Regions from separate parts of the Homo sapiens genome. Here region 1 is linked to region 2. Evidence: promoter capture Hi-C in 16 types of primary human blood cells and fetal thymus (Javierre and others, 2016). All regions are on one chromosome and are shown on one strand. Each heading gives the region's core, a stretch centred on a gene start or on the middle of the fragment in contact. The rest is flanking DNA. Distances are from core to core; before and after follow the strand shown. Region 1 overlaps MTCL2 (microtubule crosslinking factor 2). Region 2 holds the start of MTCL2 (microtubule crosslinking factor 2).

Region 1 (6,748 bases), core at 3,776-6,275, 60 kb before region 2:
AGTTTTAAAAGTCAAAGTCCCAGGAACGCGCTCAGTCCCAGGCAAGCCAGCATGGGTTGGTCACCTTACTTGTACTTGAATTCATGTCTAGGGCTTTGCTTCTAAGAAACTCAACATGAGACAAACAGTAATAAGGGCAACAATGAAAATAACACTAGGCCAGGTGTGGCAGCTCACAACTATAATCCCAGCACTTTGGGAGGCTGAGGTGGGAGGATCACTTGAGCCTAGCAGTTTAAGATCAGCCTGGGCAACACGGCGAAACCCCATCTCTACAAAAAAATACAAAAGTTGCCGGGCACGGTGGCTCACACCTGTAATCCCAGCACTTTGGGAGGCCAAGGCAGGTGGATCACCTGAGGTTGGGAGTTCGAGACCAGCCTGACCAACATGGAGAAACCCTGTCTCTACTAAAAATACAAAAAATTAGACAGGCGTGGTGGTATAAGCCTGTAATCCCAGCTGCTCAGGAGGCTGAGGCAGGAGAATCGTTTGAACGCGGGAGGCAGAGGTTGCGGTGAGCCAAGATCGCGCCATTGCACTCTAGTCTGGGCAACAAGAGTGAAACTCCATCTCAAAAATAAATAAATAAATAAATAAATAAATAAATAAATAAATAAAAGTTAGCCAGGCATGGTAGAGTGTGCTCCCAGCTGCACGAGAGGTTGAGGTGGGAGGATCACTTGAGCCTGGGAGGCGGAGGTTGCAGTGAGCTGAGATGGTGCCACTGCACTCCAGCCTAGGTGACAGAGCAAGACCTTGTCTCAAAATAAGAAAAGAAAGAAACGAAGAAAGAAGAAGGGAGGGAGGAAGGGAGGGAAGGGAAGGAGGGAAATAACACTAACATCAGCAAACAGCAATGAGAGATGAAGACCATAGAATCAAACCAAGCCCCAGACAGGGGTGGGCTTAAGAAGCACTTTGAATCTTCTGGCTATCTCACTTTATTTCCATAGCTGCCTTGCAAGATGAGAAGGTCAAGAATGGTCATCCTTATTTTACAGATGAGGCCCAGAGATCAGAGGTGACTTGACTGGGGTTGTACCTGGTGGAGCCAGGTAAGGACTGGGGACTCCTGGTCAGAAGCTCTTTCCCACCAGCCACTCTGTTGCTTTCACCAGTCTGGCTTAATCGTCAGTCCAGTGTAAAGAAGAATGCTGCTTTGGGGGATTTGGTTTAAAGTGCAGGAGGCAGAAGAATGTCAGAGACACAAGAGGCTGGAGCTAGAGGGCCGGCAAGTCTCTGATGTGAGAACAACAGCAGAACATGGAACCCGTGCCCTGATGAGCTGACAAGACACGCCTGTGGGCTGACATGTTCCCCAGGGATGACATGAAGCTTGTTTCATAATTTCAGAATCATTTTAGAAACATTTTGTTGTTAATATAATAAGAAGGAATTATTCTTTTATAGACAGGAATTTGGTTTGATGGTGCAAACAGATGCATGCATCTGACCTGCTTTCCACATGGTACCTGGATGGTTCTGGGATTTGTTAGTCAGCCTGCCATCCTGCACTCCCCAAGCACAGCCTCCTAGCAAGTGTGAACCTCAAAGGAGCTCTTTACCTGCAGGAAAGTGGGCATGGCCCAGGACCAGGAACTTTCCAGATCTGGGAGTTCTGCCAGATTCTGGTCCTCTCCCTTACTCACTTTATGACCTTGGGCAAATCACTTTGCCTCAGTCTCCTCATCTGAAAAAGGGGTTTCATGAACGTGACCTTGCAAGGCTGTTGAAGTACTGAAGAGAACATTAGGAAGAGGAAATACCTAAGATCCATAAACTCATGAAAAATGCTCACCTTCAGTAGAAGTCAGAGAAATGCAAAGTAAAGCAATGAGATAGCATTTCACACCCTAACTTGGGCAGACATTTCAAAGATTGGTAATCACAGGAACTGGCAAAGATAAAGCAAAAAGGGCCTTCTTGTCCTTCTCACTGTGCAGCTGGCAGGAGGGTACATGGGCAAAGCCTTTCTAGAAGGCGGCCTGGCAGTTACCATCAACTATAAATGCATATGCCCTTGGATTTAGCAATTTCACCTCTAGGAATCTATCCTACTGAAATATTCATGCGTGTGCAGAAATATATGTGTGGAGATGTTCACTGAGGCACAACTTGAACTTTTTTTTTCTTTTTTTAGATACGAAGTCTCACTCTGTTGCCCAGGCTGGAGTGCAGTGGCATGATCATGGCTCACTGCAGCCTTGATTTCCTGAGCTCAAGCAATCCTCCCACCTTAGCCTCTCATGTAGCTGGGACTACAGGCACACATTGCCACAACCAGCTTCAGGTCACAACTTTCAATAGTGAAAAACTGGAAACAATCTAGATTTAATCACTGTAGATAACAAATCATAGTATCTCCACACTAGGAACACCAGGCACCAGTCACACTGAATAAGGAAGGCCTCCATACTCTTGTGAACAGCTCTCCAGGAAAGACACAAAGTATAAATAAATGGACATTAAAATTTGATTGATGATTAAAAAACAAACAAAACAAAACCCTGTAAATATAAATTTAAATAGAAAGAAAGGCCCAGCGACTCGGGAGGCTGAGGTAGGAGGATGGCTTGAGACCAGGAGCTCAAGTCCAGCCTGGGCCATACAGTAAGACCTCATCTCTCATAAAAAAAAAAAACAACTTTTTTTCATTAAAAAAAAATGACAAGAAAGGGAGGGAGTAGGCTGAAATGTACCTTTGTAATATGTGAACATTATATAAAGATGAAGTCCTGATTTACGTAATTAAAATTAAAAGTAAGGCCAGGCGCGGTGGTTCATGCCTGTAATCCCAGCACTTTGGAAGACCGAGGCGGGCGGATCACCTGAGGTCAGGAGTTCGAGACCAGCCTGGCCAACATGGTGAACCCCATCTCTACTAAAAATAAAAAATTAGCCGGGTGTGGTGGCACGTGCCTGTAATCCCAGCTACTCGGGAGGCTGAGGCAGGAGAATCACTTGAACCCGGGAGGTGGAGGTTGCAGTGAGCTGAGATCACACCACTGTACTCCAGCCTGGGCGACAGAGTAAGACTGTCTCAAAGAAAAAATAAATAAATAAAAATAAATAAAATAAAAGTAAGGCCGGGCATGGTGGCTCACTCCTGTAATCCCAGCACTTTGGGAGGCTGAGGCGGGAGGATCACTTGAGGCCAGGAGTTTGAGACCAGCCTGGCCAACATGGTGAAACCCTATCTCTACTAAAAATATAAAAATTAGCCGGCTGTGGTAGCACACGCCTGTAATCCCAGCTACTGAGGAGGCTGAAGCACATGAATCACTTGAACCTGGGAGGCGGAGGCTGCAGTGAGCCGAGAGTGCTCTCTAGCCTGGGTGACAGAGTGAGACTCTGTCTCAAATAAATAGATAAGTAAATAAAAATAAAAGTGAAAGAAAGGGAAAAGTCAAAATCAAGAGTGGAGCAGAGCAGCCTATGGTAGGTGGTGCCTGGCTGCATGAAGTGAACTATAATGGGGAGTGAGGGTCAATGATTGCTTTTCCTTTCCTCCTTCTTTTGATTGGAGGCCTCCCAATTTTCCCATGGGAACCACTCTTAGTTCCTCCCTCTTGGTTCCTGGGTTTGGGTAGGCTCCAGGGGTGGGCACATGACTCATATCTGGCCAATCCACTGTACTTGCTAAGCTGTAAGATATGAGCATGAAACTAACAGTGGCCATATTTGGGAATAGCTTGTTTAAGAGTAAAGCTAACACAGAGGAAAGCAGGCCTGACAGGCTGAAGCAGAAAGAAAAATCTAGTTCCCACTGCATTCTCTAAGTGCCTGGATCCAGCTATACCTGAAGGAGATGGTGTGCCAGACCTCACTGGATGAGCACCTAGATCCAGCTATACCTGAAGGAGTTCCTGCTTCTGAATCATTTCTGTAGCAACTCTCCCTTGCGGGTGGAAGCGGCTTGGCAGGGGTGGGCCTCACCTGGCTTAGGCGGTTCTGCAGCTCCTTCACCTGCTGCTCCACCTGCTGCTTCTCACCCTGCAGCCGCTCCACCAGCTGCAGCTTTTCCTGGCTCCAGTTGCGCTCACTGATCTGCAGCTGCCGAGTCAGCTCCATGACAGCGCTGTAGGACTCAGCTAGGAGGTGCTGCTGCTCCTCACGCTCCCGCTGTAGGGCTGCCTTCCAGTCGGGCCCTGCCCGCTCCCCGGCCCCCTTCCCTGTCTTCAGCTCCATCTGCGGAAAGAAGCAGACTAAGCAGCTGGCAGCAGGAGGCCACTCCTCTTGGCCCTTCTCTCTCCTTCCCTCCTGGGTGCCAGCGGGGAAAAGGGGAGAGGTCCCCTCAGAAGACCCCTCACTAGGGACTAACCCAGCTTAGTCCTCCCCACTCAGAACTAACCCCTAACCCCTCCACACAATAAGGGTTTGAAGAGCTCTTTCTATAAGCCATGCTCTTCTGTGGGCTTTTCAGGCATGATGTCAGTATCCTCATAAAAACTCAGAAAGATTACTAGTGGTCATTCCAGCAAGATGGTTTTCTTGGCCTCAAACCTCAGAGTGGCAGGAAAGGGAATGTGCAACCTTTAGACTCAATGCCCCCCATTAACCCCCATGAGCTGGTCAGGTTCTTGGTGGGAGGAGCACCTGAAATGCCCAGGTCTTTGGGGGCAGCAGGTGCAGGGGACACCGTGGAATATGCAGATGGAGGGAGCTGTGAGATCTGGAAGAGGGTTAGGAGGGGAGAGTAGTGGCCCCAGGAAGTAGCCAGGAGACTGTGAGCAGTGGGAAGAAGGTGGAATTGGGGCCGGGAGTGGTGGCTCACGCCAGTACTCCCAGCGCTTTGGGAGGCTGAGGCCGGCAGATCACTTGAGATCAGAAGTTCAAGACTAGCCTGGCCAACATGGTGCAGCCCCATCTCTACTAAAAATACAAAAATTAGCTGGGCATGGTGGTGTGCCATCTATAATTCCAGTTGCTTTGCAGGCTGAGGCAGGAGAATCTCTTGAACCCGGGAGGCGGAGGTTGCAGTGATCCAAGATTGCACCACTGCACTCCAGCCTGAGTGACACAGTGAGATGCCGTCTCAAAAAAAAAAAAAAAAAAAAAAAAGGAGGTGGAATTGGGGTCACAGGGAGCCAGGGGTTAGAGGTTTGGGGGAGCAAGGGCCAGTCTGACACTTATTAGCCGGGTGACCTTGGGAGATAAATTTAACTCCTCTGTGCCAGTTTTGTCATCTGTCCAGCAGAGACCATCGGAGTGCCTGCCTCCCAGAGGCTGCTGACGCCTGGGAAGGCAGCTTGCAGCAGGGGCAGGCTGGATGGAAGAAGCTGGAGCCCAAGCTGCAGGGTCAGAGCATTCTCTCTGAGTGGGAAGAAGCCCACCCTCTCACTTTTCAGGCCAAAGGAGGCAGCAAGTCACCCTCAGGCACACAGCAGACACCAAACCCCCAGGGCTCCTGGTTAAGGCTCCTTTGGGGGCACGCTGGGGAGTTGGGAGGGGAGGCCCCCATTTTGCGTGGAGGGAGCAAAATAGAGCCAGGCAGTTGGGGCTGAGGGAGTGCTTATGAGGAAATGAAGGAGCAAATGAGGACAGCAGGCAGTGGGGATGTGCACCAGCCTCACCTGTGAGCCCAGGGCGCAATCCCCCACCTTCCTTCCCTTCCTCTGTGACTCCCATTCCCCACCGTTTCTGATACCCTTGCTGTGTGACTTTAGGCAAGTCTCTTGCCCTCTCTGGGCCACAGGTGAAGCAACGGCATTCTTATTCCTCTAGGAGCATGGCCTTGGTATTCTACTCCCAGATCTGACAGCTAAAGGCTTGGCTGAGAGTAAGGGGAGAGGCGTCTGACAGGTGGGGGGCTCACCTGGGAGGTATGGCCCTTGAGCTCTGCCCGCTCTGTCTCCCAGGTAGCCTTGGCCTTGGCAAACTGTTGCTGAAGCTCCGTCAGACCACGGCGTTCATCCCGGAGCAGCCAGCACAGCTCCTTCAGCGTCACCTTCATGTCGGCCAGTGTCTTGATGTACTCATTGGGCTGCAGACAGGAGGCAAAACCTGAGTCAAGAGCCTCTGTGGGGTAGGGAGGGGAACCTGGGTTCAGAGAACTCACCTAGGAGTCCAGCTTGGGACTTCACGAGGCCTCAGGCAAGTCCCACAACCTCCCTAGGTCATCTCACCCATAAAATGGGAATGACAGGCCCAGCCCTGGCTACCTCCTAGGCTGACATGAGGCCCAAATCTGACACCAAGAAAAAACCCTGCAGTTACAGTAATAATTATTCAGCCTAACTCTGAGCTGAATCATCTGGCTTCTTCAAGGCTCTGCAGCGTCTGTGCCGTGGGTCCTTCTCCTCACTCAGGATCTGCCTCTCTGACCCGCTGCAGGCCAGATGTGGGGTCTAATTCATGGAGACTCCCTCAGTTTGCCTGATTCTGTCCCAAATCTTCTCTCCTGGGCCCATGCCCTCATTTCCCATCCCTACCCCAGCTCACCGTGTGTGACCCTGGGATCCTGACCCCACTGTTCTCTCTGACTTATGGCTTGATTTGAAGGTTCCTGACCCTAGACCACAAGGCCCCTCTTCAGATGACTCTAGCCTGATATCCTTACCCTTACCATGTACCTCCCAAGCCATACTCAATACCAGAACACCTTGCCACACCTTGGCACACAGAGTTCTCTTGGTCCAGAATAGTCTTTCCCCTATTCTCTATTAGGTAAACTCCTATACATCCTTCAAAACCCATCATCCATGACCCCTTCACCGTGATATTGTCCCCTATACTGCAAAGAGAA
Region 2 (6,520 bases), core at 2,970-5,469:
TTTGAAGGTCTCAGGTGACGTGTCTGCTCGGCAGCTAAAGCTGCATCTTAGAATCCTGGCACCTCAGTAGTTAATAACCTTCAGACTTCCTTGGCTAGAAGGGACCCAAGGTCAGGCAGCTCAACTGCAGCCACCACATCAATCTCCCTCTGAACCCTTCTCAAGCAATCATTCCACAAACCCTCTATCTTTATCCAAGCATGCAAGGTCATCCCGCCTCTCTCTGAATAATTAAAGTGACAGTGAGCTCACTACCTTCTCTGTAGAAGCTCCTTCTATCTTCTCACTGGGAGAGAGTTGCCCGATTTATGCTTTCCTCACTTGGACCCCAGAGCAGACCATACCAGACTGGAGATCACAGTCCTTCGCAGTTGACAGTTCCCAGTGACCCCTACAAGGGGGAGGTAAGCCTGAGCAGGGCCACCCACCAGACCTGGTGGGACCTCCTTCAACTCTGCTCCTGCAGGGGACATACTGGGGATTTGGAGTCCTTTCCCTTGTACTCAGTTTCTGCATCTTAGAGGCAAAGTAGTCCAGAAAGGCAGAAAACACATCAAGAGTCTAACACATGCTTACTCCAAGCCCTGGCAGCCTAGCGACCCTGCTCTGGGACCCACTCTGGCCACAGTTTTCCCATCTGTGGAATAAACAACACAACACCTCCAGTAATAACCCCTCTATTTATGGTCCACATTTAGTCTCTGGATTTTGACCCTGCCTCTGTGAGGCTGGCGGCTGGGATAAACAGATATACAGAGAAGTTAAGGGACTAACCCAAATGTACACAGTGAGAAGTGGCATGGGCTGGCCTTGCTCTCCTCTCTTACCCACACTCCTTCCCCTCTCTGGCCTTAGCGCTGTTCTTGAACTCAACGAGCATTCCAATTTCCCTTAGCCTGAAATCTTCTTACTCCAGACCCTCACTCAGTTGGCTCCACGGCATCCTGCAGCCCTCAGCCTCCCTGTGCACCCCAGCCCCCACCTTCGTGTGCTCCTGGCAAACTGTCCCCTTTACCCTCATTATGATCTGTGTTGTGATTTCTTGTATGACTATTGTTTAATTCTGGTCTCCCCAAAAGCTCTATGAAAACAGACACCTCATCCTCCCTTGTCCACAGCTGTATCCCAGATCTGCCCTAGCACACGGCAGGTTCTAAATAAACAGCTGCCGAATGAACCAATGAGGGGCCAGGAGAAAGAGCCCAGCCTGCCTTGGGTGATGAAGAGGATCTATTCTGCCCTCACAGAATCCACAAGAGAACAGGCTGGGTGCACATGGAAACATGTCCCGTGCCTCTGACAAGAGCAGTGATCAGAGGTTTACTACATACCAGGTGCTCTAATGGTGTTTGCAGGAATCAGCTCATTTAACCGTTGAGGTTGGAAAGCGTGTTACTGTCCCATTTTTACAAATGAGAAAGCAAAGGTCCAGGGCCTTTAAGTAACTTGCCAAAGATCACGCCGTCAGGAAGCGACAGACCCCAGATCCAATAGCAGCACGAAGCCTGAGCCACTGAATGAATGGTGGAAATTACGGTTCCATCTTGGCCCAAACGTGGGATGTCCCCAGCTGGACCCCGGCCCCTGTGAGATCCCGGGCTCAACCCCCAGCCTCCTGGGACTGTTTTCCCCTTTAAACAGTCATGGGTGCCTCAAACAGACTTTGGGTCAGAGCCTGATGACTTCCTGGGATGGACAGGGGCCCATGGAGATGGGTGCCTAGGAGCCCTGAAGCAAAGCTCTGCAACCCATCCCCCTTCACCAGAGTGAGTAGCAGGAACCGGGAGGCAGGGGTGAGGAACTCAGAGTTTCGGTTAAGGCCAATTCAGGCAGCACTCACTGGAAGCAGCTCAGAGCACCAAGAGGGCAGGAGCAAAAGACCCTTGTCCTGGCTCGTCACCTCCCTCCTCCTCCTCACCTTCCACTTGCCCTCTCCTTACCACCGGCTTCTGAAGACTCAAAGAGCCGACTGAACTCCCAGTTGCCAACACCGAACCCGGCCCTTGGGAAGACATCCTCCCATTTAACGGATGAGGAGACTGAGGCCTGGCTTGGGGAAAGGTGTCTCTTGATTCAGACAGACCTTGTCCTTCCATACTACAAGCATTTACAGAACTCAGGCTGGAGAGCAGATCCCGGGGAAAATGGGGAGACAGAGACATAGTTGAGCAAGACACCAACACTCTAATGAGGGAGAAGCCCATTTGGTCAGAAGAGCCACAAGGAAAAGTTAAAACCTAAGTGCTGAGGGCAGACATAAACCAGCAGCATGCTGTGAGCTCCACAGCCAGGGGCACTCTGGGTGTTGTGCCAGGCCATCATCCACTGACAAGAGTCGGCAACATTTCAGCCTCCTCCAAAACCGTGCCCAGCCAGCGGCAGGAGAGCTCAGGAAGCTTCCAGCCTCCCAGGGAGAGGTCAACACGTGCAAGCTGGGCTGTCCCTAAAGCTGCCATGGCACCTGGAAGCGTGCAGATGGAGCCCGGCTGGCACCCAGTAGGTGCTCATGTCCACTGAAAAAGCAAAGGCAAAGCCTGCTGTCCGGGGGAAGCCCTAGGGTCCCCACATGGCCACAGGGAAGTCCTGTTCCAGGTGGGCAGTTGCCCTCCTCTCACTGCGAACATGGAAAGGCACTGGCCACGAGGGGCCAATGGGGCTGTTGTGTGCACAAGGTCTGCCCCAGGGAGGGCAAAAGACACTGTCCTGGGATTTAGGAAGCTGCCTCTGAACCGGTTCTCCCACGACATCATCCTCCAGGCTGTGGGACCGTTAGGCTGGGCGGAAGTGGACTCCAGCCAAGGGGATGTTCCCAGATGTCATGCTTTCAAACTGGACCCGCCCAGAAAGGCAGGCAGAGACAGGCCTGCGCCCGGGAAAGCCCTGGGTAACGACTCAGGATGGCATTCAGGCCTTTCCTGGGCAGGGGATGGCCACAGGTTTCCCTGGCGGCGGTGTCTATCAATCCCGTCCCAAGAAGGAGAGCCTGGGCGTGGAGGTTCTGGGCAGCTGAAGGCAGAGATCCATCCCTTCCCTGGCTACCCACCCCCACCTCAGCAACGCCTCCCAGAACGCTCCAAAGCTTTCTCAAGTCCCCGCTCCCAGGTTAGGGCCCTGTAGCCAGTTCCAAGGTCTTTTTCAGGAGCGCGCTTCCCAAATAAAGTTGAGAGGGGGCGGGGGGAATGAGGGAGCCCCAGATCCACCTCAGAGTGGTCCCCAGAGGGCTTGGGCCCCTTTCTCCGGATTGTTCAGTGGGAAGGAGGGCCGGCTGGTGCCTCAGGCCCGCGGGACTGTGACAGCCGGCGACCCCTGCGACCTCCCTTTCTACCCGGGCGCCCCCACCTTGAGATAGTCGTTCTCCGAGCGCAGCTCCTCCAGCTCCCGCACCAAGCCGCTGGGCCCGCAGTCCAGCATCTCCTCGGTGAGGTCGGAGAAGGCAAGCGAGGCGCTGAGCGGCAAGCGGCTGCTGCCCACCGACGACGCGGCCACCGACGGCTCGTCCGGGGAGGCGGGCGGCCGCGGGGGCTGCTGCGCGGAGGGCGCGGGCTGGGCCGGCTGCCCCGTACGGACCCCCGCCGGGCCCCCGGCCGCGGACTCGGCGTCGCTGCTCAGCGCCAGCTCCAGGCCCAGCAGGCGCGCCTCCTCCGACGCGCAGTCCGACACCTCCGAGCTGCTATCCGTGAGGCTGGGGGGCGGCGGTGGCGGTCGCGGCCCCGCACCCGAGCGCGGACGGCCCTTGGCACGGACCCCGGTGCGGACCCCGGCCACCCGCACACCCGCACCGCGCGCCCCGGGAGCCACTGCGCGCCCCTTCTTGTCCGGCCGTGAGGAGAACGCGGCGCTGCAGGCGACTGCTGAGCCCGGGCCTGGGCCGCGGCGGCCCTTAGCCAGCGACCAGCCGGCCACGTCTTTGGGCCGGGCCGGCGACGGCGCGCGGTGGCTCTTTTTCCTCTCCGGGGCAGGCGCGGGTGCAGGCGCGGGCTGGGGACCGCAGCCCCGGACCGGGGGCTCGGCCGCCGGCGCCTCCATCGCGGCCTCCCTCGGCCTCAGCGAGCTGCGCGCATGGCCCAGGCCCGCCCGGCCTCGACGTCCCTGGGGAGGGACCCGGCGCGGCTCCGGCCGCTGGGGCTGCGGCTGCTCTCGGCCCACCTCGGCCCCGACACCGCGTCCCCGTCCCAAGCCCCGCCGCGCGGTCTCTCCGCTGCTCTGGGCTCGGAGAGTGCGGCCCGACCGCCTCCAGGCGCCCCGGCTCCGGCTGCGGCTCCGCCCGGCGCCCGCCCCCTCGGCCTCGCCGCGCCCCCGGAGCGCGCCCGGGCCCCCGCCGCCCGCACGCCGATCGCTCCCTCGGGCTCCGAGTCCGGCTGCGGCCCGGGCCCCGGCTCCGCCCGGCGCAGCCCGCCCCCCGCGCAGCCCCGCCAGCTCCCCGCCCCGCCGCCTCGGCTCGGGGGCGCGCGGTTCCGCGAACAAAAGGCGGACGCGGCGGGAGCGGCAGGGAGGGACGCAGGCAGGGAGCGAGGGAGGGATCTGCGAGGCAACAGCGACCCCTTCGAGGGTCAGGCTGGCGCGGGCAGCCGCGGCCCGGGCTCCCTCCTCCTCCGCTCCGCCGCCTCCTCCCCTGCCCGCTCGGGGAAGGCACCCGGCGGAGGCGCCCCTGCGCCCGGCGTCCGGGCAGGGCCTGCGAGAGCGGCGGGAGCCGGGACTCCCGGGCCGAGGCCGGGCGGACCTCAGTTCGCAGGAACCCGCATCCATGCACGCCCAGCGCCTCGCCCCTCGCCCCGTGCCGAGCGTGCGCGAACTCCGCCCCCTTAGCCGGCATCGCCGGAGCCGCGATCCCATCGCACAGATGCGTAAACTGAAGCCTGGGGTGCACGCGCCAAGCTCACGGTCTAGGCGGCGCCGATGGGACCCAAAGCTCACACCTCCCGGGCGCGCTCGGGCTCCCCCTGCCTCGGCTTCCCTCTCCTGGCATAGGGACCGTGAAGCCCTGTGTGCATGCCTGGCTCGCGCACCTTGACCGGCGGATATTTCTCCCCATGCGCCCCCGACCCGGGTTTCAGGCTCTGTACGGCTAAAATGGAAGCGACCCGTAGCTAGGCGCGGTGGCTCATGCCTGTAATCCCAGCACTTTGGGAGGCCGAGGCGGGTGGATCACGAGGTCAGGAGTTCGAGACCAGCCTGACCAACATGATGAAACCCCGTCTCTACTAAAAATACACAAATTAGCCGGGCGTGGTAGCGCGTGCCTGTAATCCCAGCTACTCGGGAGGCTGAGGCAGGAGAATCGCTTGAACCCGGGAGGCGGAGGTTGCAGTGAGCCGAGGTCGCGCCACTGCACTCCAGTCTGGGTGGCAGAGCTAGACTCCATCTCAAAAAAATAAACAAATAAATAAAAACAAAAATAAAATGGAGGGGACCTATTACGAGATGTCAGCCTAGCGGATGCTTTGGAAGGCGGTTTTGGCCCCCGTGGGGGCTGGCATGGGCTGGGACGGTTGCCCTGACCCCACACGTCCCCACCAGGAGCAGTGCAGGAGGACTTGAGCTCTGATGGGCGTGTTTTCTTTCCTCCCGGGCGTCTGGGCGTCTCCTTGGCTCCTGGCCGTGTTGATTTTCCCATGTCTCTCACACCTTCCCCAGCCCCCACACCGCCTGGCCGCTACGCCCCCATCCCTGAGCCACCGCAGGGCAGAGCTGGATTGAGTGCTTTGCCCCACAGATGTACCCTCGTCCTTAGGGTGCCCCACACCCCTTGCCACCAGAAGGGCAGGGCTGTTTTTGCCCCTTTACAACCTCTTTCTCCTCCTGTTCTCTCCTCCCCCTCCCATTTATCCCCTGCTCTTTCTTCCTCCTTCTTCTCCCATCTTTCCCCTTCCTTTCCCCCCTCCTTTTCCAAGTCTTCCTTTTCCTCCTCTTTCCCCTCTTCTTCCTCCTGCCCATTTTCTCCTTCTTCTTCCTCCCCCAATTCCCTTCCTTCACCTCTGCACCTGCCTGTGACACAGCAGGCACCAGGTCCACTTCTTTGTCTCTGTCCCACCTCCCCCACACGCTGTGAATACACTCCTGGGGCATCCCCTCTCTCCAGAGGCATGACTTCATCTGGATCCAGGTGAGTGAGTGCTCCTCCACCCCAACGCTAGGTGCCCTCCATACGGCCAAGTGAGGAGCAGGCACTCAGCAGGCTCTTGGCAAACACTTCCGCAGGGGCATCCCCACCCCCTCCTAGCAAGACACCAGCTCCCCTCACGGCCCACTGACTGTCCACAAACCCTGTTTGCACAGGCGCCAGGTACACTGAGGGACGCAGTGGTGGGCATGTCAGTGCCTGAACTCATGGAGCACACAGTGTGTGTTGGGGGGGACCACAAAAGACTCAGCACAAACAGGGTGGCATGGCATGTGGGCAGGAGTGCTGGAGAAGGATGTGGGAGCCGCAGGCTAGTGACCCAGGGCAGGCCTTCCCACATTCCGGGCCTCAGAGTCCCCACCTGCTCTGGTCTAATGTAACAGATGACAGGGTCCATCC

The links. The method cuts DNA at HindIII sites, captures the fragments that hold promoters and counts their contacts. A CHiCAGO score of 5 or more calls a contact.
Region 1: a fragment that was not itself captured here is called in contact with the fragment with the promoter of MTCL2 in region 2 in 2 of 17 cell types (M2 macrophages and endothelial precursors); the score reaches 5.0 in M2 macrophages.

Annotation. Positions count from the first base shown.
Region 1 is chr20:36,798,917-36,805,664 of GRCh38, forward strand. MTCL2 (microtubule crosslinking factor 2) reads right to left here. Exons shown (of 15, transcript NM_080627.4): 10 at 5,819-5,986; 11 at 3,940-4,191. Among named protein-coding and RNA genes, the nearest start is that of DSN1, 29 kb to the left of the region's middle. The HindIII fragment of the contact is 7,378 bases long and covers 1,337-6,748 here.
Region 2 is chr20:36,859,319-36,865,838 of GRCh38, forward strand. MTCL2 (microtubule crosslinking factor 2) reads right to left here and starts at 4,220. Exons shown (of 15, transcript NM_080627.4): 1 at 3,340-4,220. The coding sequence starts at 4,026. RefSeq lists silencers at 3,820-3,969, 4,040-4,929. The HindIII fragment of the contact is 4,947 bases long and covers 3,078-6,520 here.